Regions from separate parts of the Homo sapiens genome. Here region 2 is linked to region 1. Evidence: promoter capture Hi-C in 16 types of primary human blood cells and fetal thymus (Javierre and others, 2016). All regions are on one chromosome and are shown on one strand. Each heading gives the region's core, a stretch centred on a gene start or on the middle of the fragment in contact. The rest is flanking DNA. Distances are from core to core; before and after follow the strand shown.

Evidence for each region. Contacts are between HindIII fragments. The CHiCAGO score rates a contact against its expected background, and 5 or more counts as called.
Region 2: a fragment that was not itself captured here is called in contact with the fragment with the promoter of CCSAP in region 1 in 1 of 17 cell types (neutrophils); the score reaches 6.7 in neutrophils.

What each region holds. Positions count from the first base shown.
Region 1 is chr1:229,339,045-229,346,990 of GRCh38, reverse strand. It overlaps CCSAP (centriole, cilia and spindle associated protein), which reads left to right and starts at 3,944. Exons shown (of 4, transcript NM_145257.5): 1 at 3,944-4,079; 2 at 4,478-4,892. The coding sequence starts at 4,526. RefSeq lists silencers at 2,495-2,789, 3,636-4,495, 4,696-4,895. The HindIII fragment of the contact is 1,840 bases long and covers 3,481-5,320 here.
Region 2 is chr1:222,619,431-222,627,376 of GRCh38, reverse strand. MIA3 (MIA SH3 domain ER export factor 3) reads right to left here. Exons shown (of 28, transcript NM_198551.4): 2 at 6,085-6,218; 3 at 2,523-2,609. Among named protein-coding and RNA genes, the nearest start is that of MIA3, 5.3 kb to the right of the region's middle. The HindIII fragment of the contact is 873 bases long and covers 5,714-6,586 here.

The sequences.
Region 1 (7,946 bases), core at 2,695-5,194:
CAGGTGGTAATTGTTCACATGCCGCTCACCTCTTGCAATGCGGCTCAGAACCTAACAGGCCATAGATGGTACCAGAACCCCTGGCCTAAGAGGCTCACAGAAAAAATGGAAAGGGTGGAAATTTAAGAGAAACCAAGGGGACTCCAGAAACCAGGCTGCAAGATCCAGGCATAGGCAGGAGAGGGAGGATCTGTGCCCTCAATTTTGGCAGAGGAAGCCCTGGATGGGAGGCAGCCCTGGGCGAGGAGGGGCATCTTCCTCTGATGGAGATTGGGGAGCCAATAGAAAGGAAGATCTGGCCAGGCACAGTGGCTCATGCTGTAATCCCAGCACTTTGAGAGGCCGAGGCAGATGGATCACCTGAGGTCAGGAGTTCAAGACCAGCGTGGCCAACATGGTGAAACTCTGTCTCTACTAAAAATACAAAATCTAGCCGGGCATGGTGGCAGGTGCCTGTAGTCCCAGCTACTCAGGAGGCTGAGGCAGGGGAATAGCTTGAACTCAGGAAGGGGAGTTGCAGTGAGCCAAGATCGCGCCACTGCACTCCAGCCTGGGCGACAGAGTGAGACTCCATCTCCAAAAAAAAAGGGCCTGGAGCTGCACTCCTGAAAGATAAACAATAGATATTTGCCACACAGGCATACAGATTCCACATGAGAAAATCTGCTGGCGACCGAGTCTGGCCAGGAGCAGAACAGGCAGCCTCACAGGGACATGAAGGCTGTCCACCTCTCGGGGGGTGTGGCTGAACCTCTTGGAGCCCTTCCACCCTAAGCCTCTGGCACTATCACTCCCTCAGCTTGCCAGCCCATCCTATCTCAATAATTTTCTTCTTCTGAGCCAGGGGAGGCCATCCTCCGAGGGCTTCCTCAACTTCCCTCTTCCTTGCTTCTGAGAAAAAGCTGATCTTCCAACTCACATGCTGTGTACCCACTCCTCCTGACTCCTCCCCAATTCACGTGCTCTGTACCCACTCCTCCCACACAGTGCTCCTTCCATCCACTGCCCTCTCCTTCCCATTTGTCTCTGGATGGTGCTGTTCTCTCTCCCTCTCTCTCCCCCCGTCCCCAGCCCCCGACTGCCCCTTCCAAATACAAACATACTCAGGAGACATCCGCTATCTACTTGACACTTTTTATGAATTCCCATGCCAGTGTAGAACCTAGAAAAGCCAGATATTTGCAAGCCTCTCTTGTAAATAGGGTGCAGTCGCTCAGGTTAGAGTGCAGTGGTATGATCTCAGCTTACCTCTGCCTCTCAGGTTCAAGTAATTCTCCTGTCAGCCTCCGGAGTAGCTGGGACTACAAGCATGCACCACCAAGTCCAGCTAATTTTTGTATTTTTAGTAAAAATGAGGTTTCGCCATGTTGGCCAGGTTGGTCTTGAACTCCTGACCTCAGGTGATCCGCCTGCCTTGGCCTCCCAGAGTGCCCTTATATTTGTGTGTGTGTGTGTGTGTGTGTGTTGTGTTGAAGATTGTAAAATATGCCCGCAAATTCCTTCACCCGGTATGCAATCCCTTTTGGAATGTGAATTTGCTGCTCCTCTTATGCAGAAGGGAAGTTCATTTCTCTCCCTTGACTCTTAGCCTTGTGATTTCTTTGAACGTGAGAATGCAGCAGGAGATGTATATGACCTTGAGATGCCAGTCCAGGCTTCTGGAGGATGTGACCAAGACGGCCCAGCCCACAGCCCACCCCACTGCCAGTTATGTAAGGGAGGTGTACTAGTTTGTTTTGTGCTGTTATAAAGGAATACCGGAGGCTGGGTAATTTATAAATAAAACAGGTTTATTTGGCTCATGGTTCTGCAGGCTATACAGGAAGCACAGTGTCAGCATCTGCTTCTGGTGAGGCCTCAGGGAGCTTCCAATCATGGTGGAAGGGGAAGGGGAGCTGTCATGTCACATGGAGAGAGAAAGGGAGTGAGAGAGAGAGAGGAGGACATGCCAGGCTCTTTTTGAACAACAAGCTCTCATGCAAACTAAAAGAGTGAGAACTCACTCGTTACTGAAGAATGGCACCAAGCCATGCATGAGGGATCTGCCCCCATGACCCACACACTTCCCACTAGGCCCCACCTCCAACATTGGGGATCAATTTCAACTTCAGATTTGGAGGAATTATCCCAACTATATCAGGAGGTCATCTTGAAACTTCCAGCCCTGCTGTCTCTCCATCAGAATCCAACTGCGGAGGAACTGCCCAGCTAACCCTCAGAATCATAAGAAATAATAAATCTTAGCTGTTTTAAACCACTGAGTTTTGGAGTGAATTATGCAGCAAAAGCTGAAACCGATGGTGTCCTGCATGTCCCATAGAACTACATATAACCATTTCCCCACCTTATTCAATCTTTATTAAGGCTACTTTGGTTGCAAACATCAGAAACCAACCCCAGCCAGCTTAAACAAAAGGAAAGTGCATTAGAATGTCCCTAATGTAAGTCAAGGAACAGAAAATAAAGTTGGGAAGGGGAGAAATCATGGCGTCCGCGGACTCATTAGCAGCAGGGTATCCTGGAGTTTCCGTCCAGAAAACTGCCATTAACACAATCCCGTGCTAATGATTGGACTAGTAACTTCAAGTTTTCAGAGCAGACGGTCTGACCCGCCCCATTTGGGCCAGTAGCCGCCTCTGAATCATTTAGCTATGATGAGGTGGGCGGTGGTGGTGGGAGGCAGGATGCGGACACGTAGAAAGTAGGTGAATTCGTGGGAATCCTGACGTGGAAGCCGTGAGCGCTACTCACGGCCTGGGCTTGCTTTTTAACTGCTATATATATATTTAGATTTTCCAAAAGTTTTTTCCTTTCAAATCTTTTTGCAGCTACTGTATCAAGGCTCTTTTTTTAAGAAAGGGAAAATAGTGCAGGACCACTTCTGAAACTGTAACAAATGGGGCAACGTTGTATTCTTCTGTACAATGTAACTGGATCTGTGAAGGTTTTTATTTTTTATTTTTTATTTTTTTTGAGACGGAGTCTTGCTCTGTCGCCCAGGCTGGAGTGCAGTGGCGCAATCTAGGCTCACTGCAAGCTCCGCCTCCCGGGTTCACGCCATTCTCCTGCCTCAGGCTCCCGAGTAGCTGGGACTACAGCCGTTCACCACCACGCCGGGCTAATTCTTTTTATTTTTATTTTTTTAGTAGAGATGGGGTTTCACTGTGTTAGCCAGGATGGTCTCGATCTCCTGACCTCGTGAGCCACCCGCCTCGGCCTCCCAAAATGCTGGGATTACAGGCGTGAGCCACAGCGCTCAGCCGGATCTGTGGAGGTTTTATGAGCAAAAAGGGAAAACAGTGCGGGGCCACTTTTGAAACTGTAACAAATGGGGCAACGTTGTATACTTCTGCACAAAGTAACTGGATCTGTGAAGGTTTTATGTGTAAAAAGGGAAAAGAGTGTGGGGCCACTTTTGAAACTGTAACAAATGGGACAACTTTGTATACTTCTGCACAACGTAAGTTAATCTGTCAAGCTTTTATGTGCAAACGAATCTCTGAGCGAGTGAAATGGTTTTGATCAAAATCTAAAAGAATTTGGGGAGTGTAGATATAAAAGGGAGTTAAAGCCAGAGTAACAGGTGTTGTGAACACAGAGAGGAAGAACCGGTAGGTTTCGAGTGAGGACAGAGAGTGTCGCCCCCGGCCGCAGCCTGGGGGGGCTGCATATCTGGAGGGATCATCTCTTGCCCCTAACTGACGACTCCTGCAGAGTGACGCGTGCCTGGGACAGCGTCTGCTGGGACCAGGGTGGACGGGCACCTCAAATAAGTGGGCCAGGGACCTGGGCCTGGGCCCCTCGGACTGGCAGGCACGCCCGCACCCCCGCGCCTCGCGCTCTCTACGGAAGCAGCCGCCCCCACGGAGCGGGCGGAGGCCCGGGGGCCGGGAGCGCGCGTGGAGGCTCCGGGACTGAGGCGGCGCCACCGCCTCCCGCCTGCAGCTGGAGCGCGGGCCGCCGCGGCGACATCTTGCTCAGGAGGAAAGCGCGCGGGAGAGCGAGCTGCGCTTTAGCTGCTGCGCCACGCGCGCCTCGGGCCTGGGCGCAGAGGATCGGCCGGGCGCGGCGGGAAGGAGGTAAGGCAGCCCCGCGGGACCGCACGCCTAGCTCAGGGGACGCCTCCGGAGACCCCAGGACCACCCGATCACGGGCCCCGCCGCTCCCCTCCCTCGCTCCTCCTCCCGCTCAGCCCCAGTCTCCTGCGGTCCCCTCGCCCCAGCCCGCAGCCTCCCTGCCTTCCGCCCACTGAGCAGCCCTCCTCGGCGGCGCGCCCCTCGACCCCAGCAGCCCCGGTCCCCGCCTCTGCTCTTGGTCCCGGCCGCCGGGTGAGGCCGCCCCCGCCCCGCCCCCTCCCCGCCCTCGCCGGGACCCGCCCCCTGCTCCCGTCCGGGCGGGGCTCCGGGTTTAAACGTCGCGGCGGGCAGGGCCGGCGGAGGGGCGGGGCGGCCTCTGTGTCGTGTACCGGGTCCCGTAGGCTGCGGGCAGCGAGGAGCGGCTGGCGCTCGAGGCGGCGGACGGCACCATGTCCCCGGGGAGCGGGGTGAAGAGCGAGTACATGAAGCGCTACCAGGAGCCGCGCTGGGAGGAGTACGGGCCGTGCTACCGCGAGCTGCTGCACTACCGCCTAGGCCGCCGGCTGCTGGAGCAGGCGCACGCGCCCTGGCTCTGGGACGACTGGGGCCCGGCCGGCTCCTCGGAGGACTCGGCGTCGTCAGAGTCGTCGGGCGCCGGGGGCCCCGCACCCCGGTGCGCCCCGCCCTCGCCCCCGCCGCCCGTAGAGCCGGCGACCCAGGAGGAGGCGGAACGGCGGGCGCGCGGGGCCCCGGAGGAGCAGGACGCGGAGGCCGGGGACGCGGAGGCCGAGGACGCGGAGGACGCGGCTCTGCCAGGTACCCGGCCCGGAGGGGAGCGCGAGGGGCCTGCACGCAGGGACGGTTTGCTCTAAGCTCTGAGCAGCTGATCTCTTATTTCTTGCGCCACTCGGGGCTGGCTCTTCCTTTTTTTTTTTTCGGTTGACAGAATCCGTCTCTCTTGACAAAATAGGGAAGGTGGCAGCCTTTGCCACCCTTTATTTCCTTAATTAGGTGGCTTTCGGTCGAGCCAGCGGTGAACTCAATTGAAGCGCCGCTGGCTGAGTCTGGGGTCTTTCCTCGCGGGCCTCTGCGGCTTGGCAAACCTCTGAATCCCATCTTATTTCTTGGCGAACCACTGAGTCCCATCTGCTTATTTCTAGGCGCCCATTTTTGATCAGAGGAGCCCCAGCTTTAATCAGATTCTCAAAGGTAACCCAAAAGGTTAAGAACCACAGAGCTAAGCTTTGTCTGATGAATGGGGCCATTGTTTTCCGTATTAACTCCCCGACCTCGCTACGCTGTCCCTAAAGAATATTTTGCATTTGTTTACGTGGAGTGTTGAATAACTTGGCTGTGAGAGCATCTTTATAAGTGCTAGGGCCTCTCCCCTTCCGTCCCTCCCCATCCTCCCTCGCCTGTCCAGATCCGAAAGCGCCGGTGGCGCTGCGCGTGTTTTCAAGGCATGGCCCCTTCACCTTCTTTCCTGCCCAGAGGCTTGCAGGGCTGGGGACCCAGTTGAACGCCTCAGTACAGCCTGGAGTAACCAATGGTTCCTTCCAGATCACTGGATTTTAAAAAGGCTCGAGTGAGGAAAACATGGAAAATGTATTGGGAGCCTGTTAGACATTCAGTCACTGATCTGGGAATATGTATGTTGTCATTTAATATTCAAAACAATCCCAAAAGAGACCATGTTGTAATCTTTTTTTTTTTTTTTTTTTGAGACGGAGTCTCGCTCTGTGGCCCAGGCTGGAGCGCAGTGGCGCGATCTCGGCTCACTGCAACCTCTGCCTCCCGGATTCACGTCATTCTCCTGCCTCAGCCTCCCGAGTAGCTGGGATTACAGGCACGCGCCACCACGCCCGGCTAATTTTTGTATTTTTAGTGGAGACGGGGTTTCACCATGTTGGTCAGGCTGGTCTCAAACTCCTCACCTCGTGATCCGCCCGCCTCGGCCTCCCAAAGTGTTGGGATTACAGGAGTGAGCCACCATGCCCGGCCCTAATCTCAGTTTTATAGATGAAAAAACGGAAGCTCAGGATCAGTGACTTTATTCATTTATGTGTTTATTTTTGTTTACCCGATTGCAAGCCAATCAGACTCTTCCTGGCTTCTCTGTGAGAGGCTGAGGAGGAGATGAAATTTCGGCTATGAGCCGGGTTGCTTTGCTCTTGGTTTTACCATCTTCAGCTATTTTCAGCTCATCATCGGAGGCAGGGCTGCCTCCTCCCATCATGATGTTACTTGTGAATCCCCACAAATCCTGATGCTTCAGTGATCACTGCTAGAAATGCAAATAACAGAAGGTGGAGGGGGTAGGGAACATGCCTTCCAGATTATTCCTGTGGGTACTGATCTGCTAGCTAAATTGAGATGTACTTTATCAGGCTAAATGGCTTTTCTCTCCCCGATCTTTTATTGTTTGTGATGGAGTTGTCAAATATTTGCATGCAATATAAATACAATTTTTAGGCAGCGTTGTGATATGGATGGTGCCTGTATTTACCAGCTCAGGTAAGCTCTGAGTTCATGATTATTTTGGTTTCCTTAAATATAGCGTCCTCTCAGTTATTTCTTCCCTGCTAACGTTTCTGGTTTAGGCATCAGGAAGAAGAAAGGATGTTTTCTGCTTTCAGGACTCAATCGCAGCATCTTTTGTTTTGCTCCTACCCGTAAGGCCCTCTTGACTCCTGTGTTGCTTGCACAAGATTAAATATCCTGGTTTTTAAGTGGATGGTTTTAAATACTAGTGCAATGAGCACTCTTTTGAGTTTCTATAAAATATAAAATTTTTTACTTTCCCTGAAGCCATAGATGCACATAGAATCACGTAGTTCTGTCTGACTTATTACAAAAGCACATCAGCCCTATGCCATACATAACACCCTGGTTTTTCCTTTGGTATTTATTTCTGTATCTCCAAGTAACATGGCTTTTATTGACATGTGATTGTTTTTTTTCAGTTTTTAACATTATCTATTGACTTTAATTCTTTTTTACTGCTCTCCTCACCCACACACACACGGCCCATCTCCACACCTGCACAATACAGTCCTCATAGAGTTTGTTGGATTCATAATTAGTATGTACCGTATTGTGCCCATGGAAAAAGTTACTCAAAGCTGACCCATACTATTTCCCATGATTCCCTTTTTTCTTTCACAATACAACCAACACATCAGGTTCACTATCACTCTTGTCATCTTAAGATGCCTCTCCCAGGGCCCCTGACCTACTTCTGTCTGGGCTGGCTGCTGCTCCTGTGGGCTGCTGCCTGGCTGGCATCTTGGGAGGGCCCTTGGCCATCCTCCTAGGACCTTTCTTGGCTTCTCTCTTGGGTTTGAGTCTCTGTCGTGTGCCTTTCATGTCATTTTCTTTCTTGGTTTACCCCTTCTTGGTGGAGCACATCTTCTAGTAGATTCCCAAGAAAGGATGGTTCAGAGGTTAGCTTTCTTTGAATGCCAAGAGATAGCTTTATTCTACCCTTACAATTTGGTGAGTGTGGCTGGGCATGGAATTCTAGGTTGGAACAGTTGTCCGTAGAAACTCTGGGGGCATTCCTCCTTATGTGTTATGACTGCTGATGTTACAGCCTGCCTCGTTATGATTCTTGATCTTGATCTTTTGTAGGTAATGTGTTGCCCTCAGGAAGCTTTCACGGTCTTCTCTTTGGCCTTTATGTTCTGACATTTTTCCTTGATCTAGATCTGTTTTCCTTTGCTTTGCTGGGCACTTGGCAGGTCTTTATAGACAAACTCATGTTTTTAATTCCCGGAAGTTTTCTGGAATTATTTTCTTATTTCTGTTTTTTTTTTTTTTCCCATTTCTTTTTTTTCTGAAGTCCTTAGTTGGATATTAGACTTTATCATT
Region 2 (7,946 bases), core at 4,901-7,400, 6.7 Mb after region 1:
CTGGCTTCCCTTCATTCTCTCTTCCCCAGGGGAAGAATGATTCATGTGGCTGGTGAGTTTGCTCAGTCCCAATCCTGTTTTCTGTTTGGGACCTGCTGGAGAGGAAACACATATTCTGTTCCTCCATGCTGTCCGTTTTACAGGGACAGTCCCACCTGGGGAGACCCCTATTGGATAGCTCTGTCTGTGACTGGATAAGTCCATCTTAGTTTAGACCGCAATGTTAGAAAGCCCATTATTTCTGCATACTCCAAACAGCTTTATCAGTAAATAATGGGGTCATTTTGATCTCCTATTTGCCCAACTCCTGGGTCTCTCAATTTTGTTTTGAGCACAGGTGGGGAAAAGTAAGGTGTCATTTATTGGGTTCCCCAACTCCCATCATCTATGCCTGATGTTCTGGGAATTCACCTTATAACCCATCCAGGAGGAGCTGAAAGACCATCAGCTTCTCTACATTGTGCCCTCTATGTCATACTTCTCTGCTCACCCAGTCAGAAACAGGCAGAATCACCTGGCTGTCAGGCTCTCAGTCTACATGGATTTGGGGCTCATATTTTCCTTGGACTGGGAAAGAAATCAGCTTCAGAAGGAACTTACTGAGATACAGGTGCATGAGATATAAAAATGTAAGAGAACAAAGAATGGTGTAAAGGAGGCTCCCCATTTTCATACTGCCACAAGAACAACTTGAAAACAAGATTCAGTAAGGTAGGTACCTAACTCCAAATAAGGATTCTAGCCAGTCACTAAGATCTGCTTTCAGGACTGTCAAGTAAATCTGTATTTTTCCCTTCCTCCACCAGTAAGCAAATTGACATACAAGGAGCCATAAAATGATGGAAAAGTTAAAAAACCAACAAAGATAACTTTCTTCCCCTAACTAAACATTCACAATCTTCTGGTGAGAACTGTCCTGTGTACTGGAGATGAATGACTTCCCTCTTTCCATCATGCACACTTCTGAGCCAATTTTTTTAATATTAAGGGAATCATGCAGTGGGAACTACAATTAGTATACAGGTCAGGTCTCTGTGACCAATGAATTGCTGTCTCACACTCAAATCCCGGGCAGTCTCTTCATCAGGAGTGAAGCCAAACAGGCAATACGATTGACTATATAACCCCTGAGAGCGTCGAGAAATTTTAAGCATAGCAATAGCTCTGTGACTTCACTCTGCCAATCTCTTCTAAGAACTGCCCTAGCCCAGCAGCTTGCACGCTCTGCAGCAACTCCAAAGAGCTACTCAAAGACTTTTGAATGAAAGCAGACATCAATTACTATAAATTCTAAAACTCACAAAACAATCAGATGGGGGGCTGGGCATGGTGTTTTTTATATATATATATGAAAGGCAGCCTGTAATCCTAGCACTTTGGAAGGCCAAGGCAGATGGATCACTTGAGGTCAGGAGTTTGAGACCAGCCTGGCCAACACGGTGAAACCTCGTTCCTACTAAAAACACAAAAAAATTGGCTGGGTGTGGTGGCAGGCGCCTGTAATCCCAGCTACTCCAGAGGCTGAGGCAGGAGAATTGCTTGAACCTGGGAGGCGGAGGCTGCAGTGAGCTGGTATCGCACCACTGCACTCCAGCCTGGGCGGCAGAGAGAGACTCTGTCTCAAAAAAATAATAATCAGATGGAATGCAGATTCTAGAACACAAAATCCTTCTAGTCACGAAGCCATTGTGCACTATAGATAAATGCTCTACAGAATGTGTAGTTAGCGCCTTACAGATATGAGACTGGACCTCACCTGAAACTCTCTGGTTCCCTTTTCCAAATCTATAACTATAATCGCTTAAATCACTACAGAGTCAATAATAAGAAAACCTTTGTAAGTTTGCATTTCTGGCTCAGTATAAAATTAGAGCTTAATTAATTTAACCTGATTTCTATATCCTTAAAATGTCTAACAGCTATCCAATAAGTAGTTTTCAAATTTCTCCTTTTGCTTGTGAAATGAAATTTTTTGCCTTCTAACATTAATAAGTAAATATAAAACTACTGAACTCTTAATTTTTCACATATAAAGCAGCAAAGAAAAGCCTTGTATAAGAGTACACGGCCTTGGCCGGGCGCAGTGGCTCACGCATGTAATCCCAGCACTTTGGGAGGCTGAGGCGGGCGGATCATGAGGTCAGGAGATCGAGACCATCCTAACACAATGAAACCCCATCTCTACTAAAAATACAAAAAATTAGCCAGGCGTGGTGGTGGGCGCCTATAGTCCCAGCTACTTGGGAGGCTGAGGCAGGAGAATGGCGTGAACCCAGGAAGCAGAGCGTGCAGTGAGCCGAGATCACGCCACTCCACTCCAGCCTGGGTGACAGAGCGAGACTCCGACTCAAAAAAAAAAAAGAGTACATAGCCTTATATAAGAACATCTATTTCCATATATTAGATAACTATCAGATTATGATAAAATCTCATTTAAATTCTTTTGAAATTTTTCTTTTTTTCTAGGTAGTCACTTATAAGCCAACTTATAACTGAGAACAAGACAGAAATCCACAACTTACATCTGTTGGAACTTGTAGCTCTTCTTTGGTATATTCATGAACTACCTGGATTAAATCTTTTGGAAAATATCCAAAAGTGCGTCCAACCTACACAAAAGAATGGGCAAAAGGGACACATATCAATCAAATTCTGTATGAGAAATATGAACGATAGAGCTGCAAACCTCAATCTACAGCACATATCAAGCAATCAACTTTTTCTTGTAATGTCATTACTTTTCTCCGCTATTTGAGACCACTTCCAACATCACTAGTGACACTTTGTATGGGTCCCAGAGTGTTATTCAAGGTTTACAGTATTGCACTAAACACAAAAAATACATGAGAACCACAAGAGATCACTTTTTACTCACTGTACAATTTACTGGAGAGATGAACTGCTCACGTGGAAATGATTAGCGTCGCATGGCATTTTAAGTGGATACTCACAATACTTGAGCTCACTAGAATAGCAAGAGGAGGTGGCTACGAACTATTATAGTACAGTAGGTAGCACAATTAATTTATGCAATTATGATTTAATATTTTATCTTTACGTTTGTTTATATTTCTCTCGACTGCAAAAGGTGCCATGTAAGATCTGAGTTTGTGTGTGTACGTTTTGATAAACTGTAACTTTTTATACAGATTTGTGTATGTTTTATGGTAGTAAAGAATAAAATACACTAGGATCTACATATGGTTTACATGTCAATAACATACCTTTTTCTTAATTTTTTCAGTATTTCTAGGCTATGCGGTCTGAGAGTTTTTAACAAATTAATGCAAACCTCCACAAAATTTTACAATATATTTATTGAAAGAAATCTGCATTATAAGTGGACCCACACAGTTCAAACCTGTGTTGCCCAAGGATGAACTGTATTTGCACATATGATGTGCTATACTGCCATTTTCCAAAACGATATTACAGGTAACTGGAGACAAAACAAAATTACAGTGTAATACACACTAATCTGCCCACCAAGCTTTCATTTCATGCAAACCAAAATCTCTACAGAAAATAATTCCATTCATTTTCAGCACTAGTAAAATGTGCCCTCTTGAGAAACACACAGTCTTTTACTAGCTACTGTCTGAAAGGAGAGGTAGATCTCCCAATCATTAAAGGAGGAGGCTGGCATGTAAATCAAATGCACAAAAAGAAAAAAAGGCCATCTTATCACTAATTCATAAAACATCTCCATTCATGAGTGCTCTTGATCTGAAAACTATCTGAAAGCCAGTATTAGTAGTAAAATACTGCCATGGAGATTAGATAAGGGCAATTAAACTCTGTGTTATTGGCAGATCAAGTCTAAAATGCTAAGAAACCAAAAAAGACTGCAGAATGAAAACTAAGAAACAAATGAGAATCATTTTGAAAGCTGAAGACAGAGTTTTTAATTTCCTAAGAATAAGGTTCATCAAATTAGAGGGGAGACTATTTTAAGGGAGAACCTGGAAAAAGGAAACAAATCAGAGGTAGAGGTATATAGGGAAAGGGAAATACAATACATTTACCTTCCTTAATCTTTGTCAGTTGGGACCACAGGTGGCATCTCATTTCTTATGATTTGACCAAAAAAAAAACAAAAAAAAAAACATAGGCTCACATGACAAGAAAAAATCTTTATGTCTAATTTTGCTTTCATACATCATTTCTGCCAAGGTACTGTTGATTTCATTTGGGCGGGGGGTAGGAGGGAAAGTAGAGTATCGCCTTAAGAGAACAAATTCTGCATAAGATAATATCAGGACAAATATAAATAAATGCCACTGCCTCGTCAGGAAATACTGAAAAAGAAGACAGATAAGGCATGAGCCTTTCCATTAAAGAGTCTTTCACTTTACGTGAGCTAAGACAGTACACAAATTAACTGCCATACAAAGCAGTAAAGCAAATGCCACATGAACAGTGCAAACAAAGTGCCACCTAAACAATCATCAGGCAGCAAAGATCCCTTCTGGCTGGGTGCTGAAGGCAGCGTTCCTTAAGAAGGCAGGATGAGAGGTGTGACCCAGAAAGACTGACAGGACATCCAGAGATGAAGACGTGAATGAGCAAAACTGCAGTGGGAGGAAAATGTTAAGTCAAGTTCATTCATCCAAATGCTCAAAGATGAGGAGTGGAAAAAAAAACTTAACTTTTCTATGAAAAAACGCAGCCTAGGTACATGGAAAAACATTTCCAAGAGTAAAGATTATCAACAAATCTCATTAGGTAGACTTGAAGGAAATAGAATAGATTTGTTTTGGTATGGAGCAAGTCACTTGGGATGCTCTCTAAATAGGAGAGCTGAACCTGACCAGTTGTTGTTTCCCAAGATTACTCCCTAGGAACCTGGAATGCCAACAAAATCAGTCTATTTTCCCCAAGGGGATTTCTCAAGCCTTATTTTCTCTTTGTTTGTTTGGTGTTTTACTGACAGTGAAAACTTTCATAGTCGGGATGGGTATTTCTCTAAGTTGGGACAATCCTAAAGATATCGAGGACCCTTACTACTTGAAGTAAAGACACAGTCCACATATCACGCTTTCTAAAAAGGAAAGGACAATAACTCATAAGACAGGCCTCTCAATCAGGTCACTCCCAGTGAATCTCCTCATTAAAAATACCAAAGCATGATGCAGTCATTGATTGCCAGGTCTGATAGCAGGGTACCCATAAAATCAGCTGGGAATCAATCCCCTGGGGTAACCTCCAGACACAAGTGTCTGAAAAGCAGGACAAGGATGACCCCAAGGCTGCAAACAAAAATACAAACAAGAGGCTGGTTGCGGTGGCTCACGCCTGTAATCCCAGCACTTTGGGAGGTCAAGGTGGGTGGATCACAAGGTCAGGAGATCGAGACCTAGCTAACACAGTGAAACCCCGTCTCTACTAAAAAAATACAAAAAATTAGCCGTGTGGTGGCAGGCACCTGCAGCCCCAGCTACTCGGGAGGCTGAGGCAGGAGAATGGCGTGAACCCGGGAGGCGGAGCTTGCAGTGAGCCGAGATCGCGCCACGGCACTCCAGCCTGGGCGACAGAGCAAGACTCCGCCTCAAAAAAAAAAAAACAAACAAACAAGAAAGCACACGAGAAACAACATTTTGCTTTTTTACAGACTTATAATAGCACAGATGATTAGGGAACTGTTCCCAAGACTGCCACTTTTTCATAAATAATAATATAAACAAAGAAATACACATAAAATCAACTTTAAGCTTACATGCCTGAAACACTCTCTCACATATAGTTTACAGGAGTAAGTCTAATTCCTATGAATACTTCCTTTTTAAAGCAATGAAGTATTTTTCAGCTCTTACCATTTCAACCTCTAATACGTATGCAGCATCCTAGAGGTTGACCCTGAGGGGAACTTGCCAGAATCAGTTCTATTTCAGAAGGCTCTGCTGAGCCCCTACTCTGTGCAGACCCAAGGCCTGCTGGGGACACAGGGCCATCTTTTTTCACAGTCAGGCAGAGAGGACAAGTTAACTCCATCAAAGGTCCCAAGAAAATGCAGTCATTTAACTCTACAGTGCTAAAGAAGCCAATAAAAATTAAGCAAATAAAGTATGTCGATATTTTACTTACACTTCCAGCCCAAACTTCAGGCCATCCTCTTGCCAGTTTATAGTAAACATATACAGGATCACCTTTTTTAAAATTCACAAAACGACAATCCGGGCCTGTGAAATCTTCAAGAGCCTCACCGCGGTACATTAACACTGTATATAAAGAGAGAGAAAAAAAATAGCCAGATATCAGGATTCAGTGTTCACAGTGCATATTGATTTATCAGGAAATATAAGAATCCCACTATAAACAACAACCAAGTTTTTCCAGTACTCTCTGGAATTTCTTTCATATGCTCAAAGTATCTCAAATCCTTTGAGCTTTACTGCTATAAATCATACCTTCTGCAAGCAGACAAGGGAAAGGAAAACCTTCTCTATTTTTCTCTATGGATAATACTGAGAAACAAAAAGCAATGTGCCAACTACCACACATGGCTTTTCTCACCCAAGTGAAACTCTCGATTCCCTCTCTAACCTTCTAGTCCTCAATCTTTTCTGTTTCATATTCATAAAAAGCTTCCTTTTGCAAATGGGTAAATTCAAGCCCAGATGATGATTAACTTAAGCATGGCTACATGAACGGGTAATAGGGAACTAGAGTACCCAGGAACCCCCAAGAGGTCAATTAACTTGAACTAACCACTAAAAGGGTCTATCTTCAAGTGACTGTAACCAGTACTATGTAGCAGTAAACACTGTCAATTTCATTTGCAGCCAAGTTGTTCCCTTAGTACAGTGTCTGGATAAATTAATGGGAAAAGATATCTATCACACCCTACTATAGATTCAATTACATCACAAGGCAATATTTTCTGAAAGTAAATAATGTTGACTGTATCCAAAATTAAGTTTCAAAACAAAGGAAAGAATACCCTTATGTATATTTTTCTATAAACAAAATCAAAAGTCGACATCTCATTTGGCTGGGACTAAGCAAAACTATGAGAATAGGTCAGTAATTCAATCACGCTTGATCTAGAAACTGGCTGAAGCAGTACTTTTATTTTTGTTGACCACATACACAGTTTCCCATGTAAGATGAAATGGACAATAAATACATCTAAATAGCAGAGACAAAGAAGGACGAATAGAAATAAGATTTTTTCCAAAAGCCAATTTGCAATAAAATACATTAAAAACGTGCCTTTAAATGGCTATACACGCATATAGATTTGGAAGGGGCTACTTGTTTTTTGAAGCTAAACTCTGATTACTTTCCAACATGTCAGCTTTGTAGCTCAGATATAATTGAGTGTGAGGCCAGGTTTAAGATGATGGACAATTTAAGGTTGGGAATAAGATCAGAATTGAAAATGGCAATGTTTCTTTTGCTCCCCCTTACAATAGATCATAGAGGATTTATAATAATATTTGAGATGCCAACAAAATGCACCCTGTGGAACAGCTATTTGAAAACCACACAAGGGCACCGTACATACTCACATTACTAAACACTTTCTACAACACAACACAGACCCATCTAGACCTTGCTCCTGTTGATGCCTATTGTATTTGGTTTCCTCTGAACACGTACCATTTCTCAAGTTATGTTACAACCGTGAGCTCTTCTAACATCATGCCTCAGTACTGAAGAAGCATCAGTGATGTGATGATTCTCCAGGTAACCTGTTTTGAGGAACCCAGGCAGGGCAATGCTTGCAAGCAAAGAATACCAACTATCTTGCCATTGCCAACGGCAAATGGGTAACAGCGTGGCTTTGACCCAAGAAAACTAAAGGGAAAAATCATGGCAGTTGTACCGCTTTTGTAGTGTTTATTTACATCAACCACAGGGTTATCTCTAGGAATGGCTTCACACTCATTAGAGATCTCTTTTCTTGATTAGTGTTGTAGAGATACAAACAGTTCATATTATGA